Regions from separate parts of the Homo sapiens genome. Here region 1 is linked to region 2. Evidence: promoter capture Hi-C in human tissues and cell types (Jung and others, 2019). All regions are on one chromosome and are shown on one strand. The core of a region is centred on a gene start or on the middle of the fragment in contact, and the rest is flanking DNA. Distances in the headings are between cores, read along the strand shown. Region 1 overlaps FOXN3 (forkhead box N3). Region 2 holds the start of EML5 (EMAP like 5).

What was found. The method cuts DNA at HindIII sites, captures the fragments that hold promoters and counts their contacts. A contact is called where the count stands out against the background at its distance.
Region 1: a fragment that was not itself captured here is called in contact with the fragment with the promoter of EML5 in region 2 in 1 of the 25 tissues and cell types used here (dorsolateral prefrontal cortex).

What each region holds. Positions count from the first base shown.
Region 1 is chr14:89,401,646-89,408,266 of GRCh38, forward strand. All of the region lies in intron 2 of FOXN3 (forkhead box N3), which reads right to left. Among named protein-coding and RNA genes, the nearest start is that of FOXN3, 12 kb to the right of the region's middle. RefSeq lists an enhancer at 1,275-1,775. The HindIII fragment of the contact is 4,295 bases long and covers 3,025-6,621 here.
Region 2 is chr14:88,790,246-88,797,087 of GRCh38, forward strand. It overlaps EML5 (EMAP like 5), which reads right to left and starts at 2,708. Exons shown (of 44, transcript NM_183387.3): 1 at 2,062-2,708. The coding sequence starts at 2,258. RefSeq lists silencers at 2,219-2,298, 2,489-2,848. The HindIII fragment of the contact is 27,448 bases long and covers 1-6,842 here.

The sequences.
Region 1 (6,621 bases), core at 3,922-6,421, 610 kb after region 2:
GAGTCAGCGCTCACATGACTTGGCCTTCTAAAAACAAAGCATGTGCACATGTTCTGCTAGGTGGGTGTTTTCTGTCTAATGACATTAGTTAAATCACTTATCGGTCCTGTCCCTCGAGGAGGACAGTCACAGCCTTCTATGAAGCACTTCACAGAACTCCAATAAATAGAAAGAAGACACTGAACTCGACCCCACGGGGCCCAGAGGGAAATCCCACACACCCTGTGAAGACCAAAGGAAGAAAAGGAAGGGTAATTGGAGAGCTTTTTCCCCTGGGAAGCGTATAGCCTCTCTGCCTGTATTTACTGTCTCCTGCTGAGTTCACAAGGAAAGGTACTCAAACAAGCACACACACACACATACACAAATCAAAGACTTCATCCTGTTCATGGAACTGTCTGTAATCTTACATAGCAATCCATCAAGTTATTACTAAAAGAACGACTTCACACTACTCTCTATCTTCAACCATCTATTTCCTTGCTTTTCTTCTTATCATCCTTGGCACAGACTACATCTTCACCTCAATCAAGCTACCGCTTTTGATGACACTAAATGCAATTTAACCAGAATCTCTTAAAGCAAAACCTTGGTTATTTGGAATGTTTAAAAAATGGGTCAGCATCTCTGCTTTACTTAAGTTACCAATGCAATGTAAAGTTTTCCATTTAGCATCCTAGCTCCTCCAACAGTCCCTATTCTTATTTACATAACCTTCCAGCCACCATCTCTCTCCGTCCTTTCCTCTGACGCTGTTCCAACACATCCCTGGGGTCCAGTAACATTTGCCTCCTAAACATCTAGACCTTTGTGACAGAAAGTTCCAAGTTTGCTTGGCAACAGAATCAACATTTAACTTGGGGTTCCAATGGATCAGGCAAAAGAGTCCATTTCCCAGGCTTCCTTGCAGCTAGAAGTCATGTGACCAAGCTCTAGCCAATAAGATCAAAGCAGAGGGTGGGGTTTCTGGGAAAGCCCCTTAAAACCAGAAGTCAGCAAGACTCCCTCCTGTCCTTCCCTGCACTCCCCTTCTTGCTTCCTAAAATGGGAACATGCTAGCTGATGCCATCTTGGACCATGAGAAGACTGAGAATGGAAACCCGCAATGCCCTAAGAACAGCAGAGAAGAGGGAATGTGCGTCTCTGTCTAGCTCCTCAAGACTTCTTTCATGTAATGGAGAAATACGCCCCTAGCTTGTTTAAATCATTGTTAATTGGTTTTCTACAATAAACACTCAAGCCTCCTTCTGATCAATCCATCCTTGGAGGTCTAATGCTCATTCCCACACCCGAAGAATGCTTTGTAACAGCTTATTCAAGTGAACATAAGGAATATTCAAAACTCGCCCATCACTATCTTTTAGCTTACCCAGTGCCCCTCTTTGGGAAAGGGAAGCCAGCCTAACTTTGAATGATACCAATCTCACACTGATCGGCACACTTCCAGTACTTACGGTAACTTATTCTTTTTTATTTTGCATTATGTTTCCTGCTTCCCTGGAATGTAAACTACTAAGAGTACAAAAAGCAAGAATCAAATCACATTTTTTTTTTTTAATTTTTTGTTGTTGTTGGAGACATGGTCTCACTCTGTCGCCCAGGCTGGAATGCAGTGGTGCGATCATGGCTCACCGTAGCCTCCACCTCCCGGGTTCAAGCGATTCTCCAGCCTCAGGAGAGTAGCTGGGACTACAGGCACATGCCACCATGCCCAATTAATCTCTGTATTTTTTGTAGAGACAGGGTTTCACCATGTTGCCTAGGCTGGTCTCGAACTCCTGGGCTCAAAGTGATCCGCCCCACCTCGGCTTCCCAAAGTGCTAGGATTACAGGCGTGAGCCACCACGCCCAGCCTAAACTCATAACTTTCAAATAGGAGGTCAGAGTGCCAACTTCCTATGTTATTTACTGCAGAGAATTATCCTGCAGCCAAAATGATTTCAAAGGGAAATCCCAGCCCAATGGGGAAGGTTCTGAAAACCATTTCTTGCTGGTTGGATATACAGGCAGTACATCGATGAAGTATCTGGTAGACCTATCCAGGTGCCACAAAGCCCTACCAAAGAGAATGCAACATTTTCTCAATAGGAAACAGGGGGAGATACTGGACAGATACATTGATAGGGCCCTCGGGCCCAGAAGCTTTCCCAGCAGCCTCAGACAGACCCCTATCCAGGTTAGTGGCATCTTCCTGGCCAAGTCACTGTGAGGAGTAGAAAGGTAGTGTATCCATGAAGGGCCAGAAAAGCAACGATGTGAGACAGAAAACAGAGAATACAAAGGGCATACAGCAGTGGAGTAAGAGCTTCTGCTAGAGAAGTTCCACTAGTGAGAGGGAGACTCTGAGGGGAGGGCTCGCTGGACCATGAGTGCCTTACAGGCAGTGGCCATGGTACATTCAATTCTGTATTCTTTTAGCACTTAGTAGGTACTTTAAAAAGTTTGTTGAATAAATGAATGAATGAGCAGACAAATGAAAGGTTTGCCAGAGCAAGACAACGGAAATGTGCCCCCACCCAAGACACCTACTGACTGGAAGAAGAAGGAACGAACAGTCTGGAAGGAACAAATCAGCAGGATGGGGCTGCGCACGGTGGCTCACGGCTGTAATCTCAGCACTTTGGGAGGCCGAGGCGGGCAGATCACAAGGTCAGGAGTTCGAGACCAGCCTGACCAACAAACACCCTGTCTCCACTAAAAATACAAAAATTAGCTGGGTGTGGTGGCACGCACCTGTAATCCCAGCTATTCAGGAGGATGAGGCAGGAGAATCGCTTGAACCTGGGAAGGCGGAGGTTGCAGTGAGCCGAGATTGCACCACTGCACTCCAGCCTGGGTGACAGAGCGAGACTCTGTCTCAAAAAAAAAAAAAAAAAAAAAAAAAATCGGCAGGATGGGTCAGGGAGCTGCGCTTTCTTGGGATCACAGGATGCTGGTATGAATGGCTTCCTATTCCAGGGCCTGTGACAAGGGAGTATTTTTATTTCTGGCCCCTCAGAGACCCTGGTAAACTCTCAACCTTCTGAGGTGACATAGCCTATAGCACAGACAGCAGAAAGCAGCCCGCCTGGCAGTAGGCACCGGTGAGAAGGAGGCCGTCTTCAGGGAGAGCCATTTCCGACGCTGGACAAGGCAGCCCCAGGTCGAGGATGAAGAGGATTGTCACTTCACCCAGAGACCACAGAGGAGTCTCACACACATTACAAAATTACATGTTCCACCCCACCCAACATTACACTAATTCTTAGGAATTTACACATCCGAACCAGACCACACTGTCTTCCAATGAGCATTATTTATCCAAAAAAATAATAATAATAAGTCATCTCTTCCTCCTAAAAGGTCCATCAATGAGACAGGTAGGTTGACTGGTGTCACGGTTAGGGGAAATGCTCTTGATTCTGCATTCACAACACCAAGAAGAGAAAACTAGAAGCAACTGCTCACGTGGGGTGCTGACACATAGAGGTGCAACCTCAGTTTCTTTTTTTGTTGTTGTTTTTCTTTTTGAGACAGAGTCTCACTCTGTCGCTCAGGCTGGAGTGTAGTGGCGTGATCTTCACTCACCGCAACCTCTGCCTCCCGGGTTCAAGCGATTCTCCTGCCTCAGCCTCCCAAGTAGCTGAGATTACAGGCGCCCGCCACCAGACCCGGCTACTTTTTGTATTTTTAGTAGAGACAGGGTTTCACCATGATGGCCAGGCTGGTCTTGAACTCCTGGCCTCAAATGATGCCCCCGTCTTGGCCTCCTAAAGTGTGGGATTACAGACGTGAGCCACCACACCTGGGTGCGACCTCATTTTCAAAACTGCCTTTGAAAAAGAATCTCATCTACCGAGAGCAAACGTGAAGAGAACAGCAAATTAGAGACAATTTGTATCAACAGTGTACACGCAGGGAGAAAAGCTTCCTCACTTGGCTCTGATGCCACTGAAGGGGTCCTATGAGGCAGGGGGCTCAGGATGGAGCCTGGAAACCGGAAGCTGAGCAGACAGTTGTGTGCTCTGTGCAGATGCAAGAACTTTACATGTGCTGACAATTGAGCCCCATCTCAACGGTACAAAAATATACTCTGTATTTGCCTTTCTCTATCCTGTGCCCCCAGAGTTAATTCTGGGTTTATTTGGGTTATTTCAATCCCCTATAACCCATATTCACAGGATATTTAAAGGAAGCACAGAGAGATCATCTACAATGTCTGCTATACTGAGAAGGCCTAGGCAAGCACCAGGGGTAAGCACATGCCCTTCAGAATTGGAGGGAATCGGGCCAAGCATGGTGGCTCACAATTGGGAGGATTACTTGAGGACAGGAGTTCAAGACCAGACTGGGCGACACAGCAAGACCCCACCTTTACTAAAAATATATTATTTCTGGAGACAGGATCTAGCTCTGTCACCAGGCGATCTTCCCAACTCAGCCTCCTGAGTAGCCGGGACTACAGGTGCGTGCCACAATGCCCAGCTAATTTTTTTATCTTTTGCAGAGATGCAGTTTCATCATGTTGCCTAGGCTGGTCTCAAACTCCTGGGCTCAAGTCATCTGCTTGCCTCGGCCTCCCAAAGTGCTGGAATTACAGGTATGAGCCACAGTGCGCAGCCCTACAAAAAAAAAAAATCTTGAAATTAGCTGGATGTGGTGGCATGCACCTGTATTCTCAGCTACTTGGGAGGCTGAGTCAGGAGGATCACTTGAGCCCAGGAGTTCAAGGTTTCAGTGAGCTATGATCATGCCAGTGTACTCCAGCCTGTGTGACAGAGACCCTGTCTCAAAAATAAATTAAATCAATAATTTTTAAAAAGTTGGAAGGAATTAGGTTCCTTCCAATTAGGTTCCTAGTAAGTTCTGCACTTGCTAGCTGTGCAACTTCTAGCAAGTTACTTAACCACTCAGAGCTTAACTCATCATCTATTTTAAGAAAGAAAATAATAGGGCCTACTTCATAGGGTTTAGTGAGGAAGAAATCAGATACTGCATATGGAAAGCACAAAGCAAGCATGCCTATATTTATAAGCTAAAATTGTATTTAAAGCACTCAGCTCTGGATATAATAAACATACTTTTGTACAGTGTTTCCTTTATAAACCCTTTGATGACAATGTTTTTTGTTCAAGTAGCAAGAGGAAAGGTTAAAAAAAAAAGGCACAGAAATAGAAATACACACATACCTTATAATCCAGTCTGGAAAAAAATAACTGCATTCTACTTCTCATTTACAAGTACTCAGAGAGGTTAGTACATGCTAATCTTACACTCCTAAGTAAGACCTGTATTTAGGGAGTGTAAAACTTAATCCCAGACATTAAAACTCTACCTTAATTGATTTAGGCACAGATCATCCATAGACGAAATGAAAAAAAAAAAAAAAAAACTAATGAGAAATTTTATAGAGTAGGGAACAGTGACCTCATGTGAACCCATGGCTCAATCTCAGCTTCCCCAAGAGGGGGATGACCAGGCTTCTGGAAGTGATATATCCAGAATGTGACCCAGACGTTCGTACTTCCTTCCATTTGACAGGAAATAGAAGGAGAGAGAGAAGCAAGTTACACGAAATCACAAGGAAGTAAACAGAATGCAAGTACTCTATAGTGTAAGCCATGGGTCTCTTTTAACAGGGAAGGGAATGAAAAAGGAAAGAGGGCATAGGAGTGCTGCAGACTGACACAGACAGGAAACATCACAAAAGGCACTGCAGGAACCACATTTGGACCCTAATTCAAACAAACATTTTGTAAACAGGGATATCTGAATATGGACCTGGCATTAGGCAACACCAAATAATTGTTCATTTTGTTAGGGGGGACTTGAGCATGGTTGTTATGTAAGAAACCGTCAATTATTCTTATGTATACCGAAATGTTTGAATTGTAAATGTCATCTGCTTCAAACTACTTCAGCAAGGCTGGGTGCAGCGACTCATGCCTATAATCCACAGCACTGTGGGAGGCTGGGGCAGGAGGATTGCTTGAGGCCAGGAATTTGGGACCAGCCAGGGCAACATGGCGAAACCCCGTTTCTATGAAAAATACAAAAAAAAAAAATTAGCCAGGCATGGTGGTATGTACTTGTAGTCCCCCCTTCGGAGGCTAAGGCTAAGGCTTGAGCATGAGAGTCTGAGGCTGCAATAAGCCATGATTATGCCACTGCGCTCCAGCCTGGTCAACAGAGTGAAACCCTGTCTCAAAACAAAAAACCGAAAAACAACTTCAGAAACAGCGACAACAAAAAAGAATAAATAAAATAAGTGTGACAAACCTTTGTCAACTACTGAATCAGGATGTGTGTTATGGGGGTATATCAAGTCATTATACGATTCTAGTTCTGTGTATGTTTGAAAATTTCCGTGATTCAAAAATAAAAATAAAACTCTTATCTTCTGAAGTCCTTTCAGAGATAAAACGAAAGCCAAGCTGTCTCTTTTGCCCTGACTGACTCATTCATGAGAACATGCTCTTGATGAAATCTCAGCAACTGGAAAGACCTCAAGAGGGCACCTAGTTCAGGGATTCTCAAACCTGGCTCCATGCTGGAAACACCTAGGAAGCTTAGCAGAACTACCAGTTTTCCCCAACCCACCTCACACCTAATGAATCACAATCTCCAGAAAGGGGCCCAAGA
Region 2 (6,842 bases), core at 1,458-3,957:
TTACTCCCTCATTGAAACTTTTCAGGAAACTTATTTTCATTGTTATACATTAAAGATGTGTCATTTGGATAAAATCATAAGCATGTATATTCAACGATGAGAAATTCGAGTATGTTTGTTGTTTTGTATAAGTTGTGCAACTATACCAAAAGAAAGTCAAAGCATTACCTTCCTTACAGTTTACTGAAACACAATTATGAAATTTAAGCGGTGTGACATATAACACAGCTTCTAATTACTGCTAGAAGAACAAGATGTAATTTACCTCACCAAATAAATCATATCTAGTTTCAGAAGACCTTAGTGCTATACTGCTCTCATAACCCCCAAGGAGTAAAAACAATACAAGTGTACCACGAGAAGACCTCAAAATCCTTCACATTTACTCCACCAGCTGAATTCAACCTAACAGACTAAATTATCTGGAGCAGGGCTTCAGTTAAGGCTGCTCCAGCTAGGTAAAGCTACTATGCCTGGTACTTTGGGAGACCTAGCATATGGAAAAGAAGGGAGACTTGAAAGGATTAGGGAAAAAGACAAGACACTGGGGTAAACTCTACTCTTGGGATAACTAAGAAGATAAATAATTACTACGGGTTTACTTTAGTTTTGTTTTTCCATCAGCAATTTGGGCTATTATAATAGGTCTGTAACCCTAATCACCACGATACAGAGTCCCAGCTTGAGAAAAATGAAATGACTTATCAGTTACCTTTTCAAAGTAATACATTAAATACAATCTGAAAAAGCACTCTGGTGTCCAAAAAACAAAAACAAACAAAAAAAACCAACTGAATACAGAGCACCACCTCATTCCTTACTCTGCAATCTCAATTTTGTCTTTTCTTATCTTTACTCCATCTTGCCCTACCTCTGTTTGTCCTAGGCATCCTTTCCCTCTTACATATTATAGATGTACAGAGACGCAAAACAGAAGAACAACTTTATTTGTGGAATTTACATACCAGGGCTTCTTGCCTACAAGACTTCAAACCAAGGTACCGTATTTGAAATGCCCAATTTAAATCCTGTGCAACATACATGAGGGAATAACATTTTGTAACCAAACCCAAATCGTAGAATCTTTGATAAAACCCCAAGAGCACCACACAAACACATTCTCAATTGCTTTTAATATATTTTCCTCTGTAAAGGACAAAAAATGCTGTGCTTGAGGCAATAATCAGTGGCCTAGAATGATTTCTGAAGCTCTTGACTTTACCATAAAAGTTGTACTAAGACACTGATTGAAAATTACATTTCAAATATACCGCTCACTAAAGAAATGTCAACAAGCTCTGGGACCAACTTTGAGTTATTGTCCAAGGAAGACTAAAAATAGCCCCCCAATAGCGATTTAATTTTAAGAAAATACAAAAGTAGCTTATTTAGGAGTATTTTAATGAAGATGAAGAGAACTGGAAATCAGTGAAGTTTTCAGCAGCCTCTTCAGATAAGACCTACCTTAAATTGCCTTCAGGTGTGCACATTTTAACATCCAGTGAATTGCCTGGAGGTTGCCTGGGGTTTCTGCTGATTATAGCAGGCGGTGAAACCTGAACTAATAATTACGGCCAGGAGGTGAGAGCCCTTCAGGACGCCACCCTGGGCGCGCTCCCCGGGAGCAGCCCACCGCTTGCTGTGCTTCCATCAGTCCTTTATTAGGTAAAGGGTTTCCCCCCACCCCGGGTGCTTTAAGAATGCGTTTAATAAGAAATTTCTCACAGGATCTAACGGAATAAAGTGCCACCAAAATAACCTTTTCGCAGTTTTCGTAATTGTGATGGAGTGGGAAAGGGGACAAAGCCGTCAAACCGGGTGCCCGGTGGATCCGCGGACCTGATCTTCCTGCACGGACCCGAGAGAGAGTCCCTAGACGAGGAAGAGGGGAAAGGCATTTGTAGGGTGTTAACTGGTGGACTCGGGACCAGAGAGACAGCTGCGGATTCCCCTCGGGGTGATGCTCCGTGCAGGAGCGGTCACGGCGTCCAGAGGAACCCGCGGGTGCAAACTCCGGGAGCGGCTTGCAGGGTGACGGCGGCGGCCCCCGCTCCCCGGTACCTGATGATGTCGTCGCTGTGGCCCCGGTAGAACTTCTGCCTGTGCTCCCGCGGGCTGTACACCACGCCGACCCCCGCCACGAAGTATACGATCTCCTTGGCCGCAGTGTAGTAGAGGTTGTTGCGGCACTGGTGGCCCCGGTAGCCGTACACCCACTCGAGCCGCAGGTGGCAGCTCGGGGCGCTCCGGGCCGCCATGTCGGGGCGCCCACCCGCCGCTCCCGCTCGGGCCCGCGGCGGCGACGGGAGGCGGCGGCGGCCCGGCAACGAAAGCCCTCCCGCTGGCTGCCGGGACTTCCCGCCAGCCGCGTCCTCTAAGCCGCGCCCGTCAGGTGCATCTCGTTTCGGGGGCCGCCGCCGCCTCAGCCCACAGGCGGGAGGAAAACCCTCGCCTCGCGGAACATGCTGAGGGCCGCGAGCGCCGCCGGCTGTCAAGTGGATGCCCAGAGCCCTTCGCCCGCCTCGGCTCGCCTAGTCTCCTCAGCCCGTAGCGCCTGGGCCGAGAGCGAGGGCCCGCCTCCAGCTCCTCAGCCGCCGCCCGCGCACGCAGCTCCCAGCCCCGGTCACCTGCGGCGCTCGCGCCCCGCCGCGGCTTTGTAGCCACAGCCTGGCGGACCCGCGCCGCGCACCCCGAAACCGAGCGAGCCGAGCCGAGCCGAGCCGAGCGGCGGGCGCGCGGCCTTGCGTGGCCCCGCCCCCTCCCGCGCTCACTCCGCCCCTCCCGGAGCCGAGAAGAGGCTGGAGTTCGCGGGGCCACGGTCTAGTTGCGGAGTCGCTGGGACCGCGTCTCTGCAAGTGCGCGGGCCGGTGAGCCCTCCCTCGTTGAGCTGCTTAAGCCCAGGCGGACCCTCGGCGACCCCGGGCTCCCGCTGCTTTGCGTCCTCAACCGGGAAGCACCTGCCGGTTCCGCACGGTCCCTGCACCCAGCGTAGGCCACGTTTTTGCCTGGGAAAATCCACACCGGGATGCTAAATTCTCTTTTTTACGCTTGATACCTTGTGTGTCTTGCTGCCTTATAGTGCTTTCGGACCCAGACATTGGAATGATGCCGAGCTTCCTAAATGTGCTTTTAAATTATTATTTTTAGAAACAGAGCCTCGCTCTGTCGCCCAGGCTGGAGTGGAGTGGCGCAGTCTCAGCTCACTGTAGCCTCCAACTCCTGGGCTCCAGCGATCCTCCCGCCTCAGTCTCCGGAGTAGTAAGGAGTACAGTTGCGTACCACTATGCCCGGCAAATGTTTTGCTTTGTTTTTAAGTTTATTTTGTAGAGGCGGGGGTCTTGCTGTGTTGCCCAGGCTGGTCTCCACCTCCTGACCTTCAGCAGTTCTTCTGCCTCAGGCCTCCCAAAGCGCTGGGATTACAGGCCCAATCCACTGCTCCTGGTCCTAAGTGTATGTTTTCTTAAGTGACCGCAAAGCTGAAGGTAGACTTTAGATGGTAAACTGACATGTGAGATCTGATTTCCGAATAGCAAAAAAAAAAAAAATTGTACTTCGATTTTTTTAAAAATGACTGGGACATCACCAACAGTTACTCTTAATTAAATAAATTCAATTGTGATCCTGTAGAAAACTCCTGTAATAAAAGTATTGGGAACAATCAATTCCTGACTATGTCATTTCCCCTCCTACTCAGTTGTGTCCTCTTCTCACAGGAATATGAACAAGATTTATCAATACCTCTAAAAATAATTGGAAATCCACAATTTAAAAAGTGTTAAGTTCAGGATGGCCACAAGATTTACAACAAAAAAATACTAATTCAGGATATACCAATATGAACCCTTATTGTCTAAAAATTACTGTTTGATTTCCATAGGAAATACCAAGACAGAAATCTGACAAAAGCTAAAATAAACTACCATCGTTTCAAGAAATATGACTCCAAAAGGGGTTGACTCCTGTGTGGTACAGATATATTGGAATAGATGTTATCCAATGTCTACTTCCTCAAAGATGCCAGTTACTAACTTGAGACAGGATTACCGTTTCGTCTTTGATTATGACTTCTAATCTGCAAGCAGTTTACATGCAGGAAATAAAGGCCATCTGAAAGGAATTTACATAGATGTCATGAAAAGTAAACTCTGAAAGAGTTTCCATTCTGGGCAGAATCTGAAAAAGAGGAATAGCTTTCTGGCAGCTGCTGCAAATAAACAAAGAAATCAGGCCTGAGAAGTGGCTCTAAGGCCCATGTAGGGTACCCTGGGCAAAAGCACACACAGTTTCTCTTTGTCACCAGGAGGGCGTTTTCTGTTTTTTAATAAGAATATGTTCTAATTCACTAGTGAGTTCCTTGAAATCCCCTGGTGAGAAAAAGAAAAATTGTTGATTATTTAAATTCAAGCAGTGAACTTAGAAAACATTAAATATTTGTTGCTATACATTTGTGATATATTAATTACTGGTTACATGTAAATTTTATGAGACGAGATGGAAGAATATAGTTTTTTCTATGTTTCGGATTTTTCAGCACAATATCTTATGGATCCCATGATACACACTTAAGTACTCAGATTAATAAGAGATTTAAGTAATTTATTTTCCCATTATCATATTTTCCATTACGATTTTAATGACCCAAGTGTAGAGTGCGAAGCAAAAACATTCTTAATTAAACCATCCTCAACTGGCGACTCAAGACCAAAAGAGACAGCCGAGGCACAAAGGTGGCTAGAAAATGAACCATTCATGAATACTAGAGGAAGAAAAAAACAAACCTGATCAGTTCTTACCCTCACAACTTTATATAATCCAGTATTACCAATGTCACATCAGAAAGCTTAATGAAGCTTCTATTGCTAGGTGATATTCCATCATCTGTATCCTGTGAAAGTAATGCAAATAAGGATGTGGGAGAAAGAAACAAAAAATTATACACATCAACAAATGGACATTTGTTAAGCATTCCAGACGAAGGCTGCAATACCCCCTGTATTCGTCCGTTCTCATGCTGCTAATAAAGACATACCTGAGACTGGGTAATTTATAAAGAAAAGAGGTTTAATTGACTCACAGTTCCGCATTGCTAAGGAGGCCTCACAATCATGGTGGAAGGCAAAGAGGAGCAAAGTCGCACATGGCAGCAGACAAGAAGAATTTGCGCAGGGGAGCTCCATTTATAAAACCATCAGATCTCATGAGACTTATTCACTACCACTAGAACAGTATGGGGGAAACCACCCCCACGATTCAATTATCCCCACCTGGCACCACCCTTGACATGTGGGGATTATTACAATTCAAGGTGATATTTGGGTGGGATACAGCCAAACCATATCACCCCCTTTGGTAATCTAGTTCCTGAAACTTGAGTTCCTAGTATGGAATTTGAGATATTTGAAATATTTCTAAAATTCAGGCAAATAAATCATGTGCTGGCTACTGATTAGGTACCCTTAGGTTTATAAAGAAATCTAAGGCAAAATGTAGAAAACATAAAAACCAAAATTCCCCAGCCTGGCCAATATGGCAAAACCCCATCTCTACTAAAAATACAAAAAAAAGTAGCCGGGTGTGGTGGTGCAGGCCACCATCTCAGAAAAAAAAAAAAAAAATTCATGCAATTACTTCTAGCTAGCATGGTGGCTCTCACCTCTAATCCCGGCACTTTGGGAGGCCAAGGTGGGTGGTCAGGAGTTTGAGACCAGCCTGGCCAACATGGTGAAACTCCATGTCTAGTAAAAACACAAAAATTTGCCAGGCATGGTGGCGGGCGCCTGTAATCCCAGCTACTCGGGAGGCTGAGACAGGAGAATCGCTTGAATCCGGGAAGTGGAGGTTGCAGTGAGCTGAGATCGCACCACCGCACTCCAGCCTGGGAAACAAAGAGTGAAACTCTGTCTCAAAAAAAAAAAAAGTATATATATATTATATATATATTATATGTTATATATATTATATATATTATATATATATTATATGTTATATATATTATATATATTATATATATATTATATGTTATATATATTATATATATATTATATGTTATATATATTATATATATATTATATGTTATATATATTATATATATATTATATGTTATATATTTTATATATATATTATATGTTATATATATTATATATATATTATATGTTATATATTTTATATATATATTATATGTTATATATATTATATATATTTTATATATATATTATGTTTATATATTATATATATTATATATATTATATGTTATATATATTATATATATTATATCTCTTATATGTTATATATATTATATATATATTATGTTATATATATTATATATATTATGTTATATATAATATATATTATATGTTATATATGTTATACATATTATATGTTATATGTTATATATATTATATATGTTATATGTTATATATTATATATATTATGTATATTATATGTTATATATATTATATATATTATGTATATTATATGTTTTATATATTATATATTATATATATTATATGTTTTATATATTATATATTATATATATTATATGTTATATATATTATATATTATATACATTATATGTTATATATATTATATATTATATATATTATATGTTATATATATTATATATTATATATATTATATGTTATATATATTATATATTATATATATTATATGTTATATATATTATATATTATATATATTATATGTTATATATATTATATATTATATATATATTATATGTTATATATATTATATATTATATGTTATATATATTATATATTATATGTTATATATATTATATATTATATGTTATATATTATATATATTATATGTTATATATATTATAT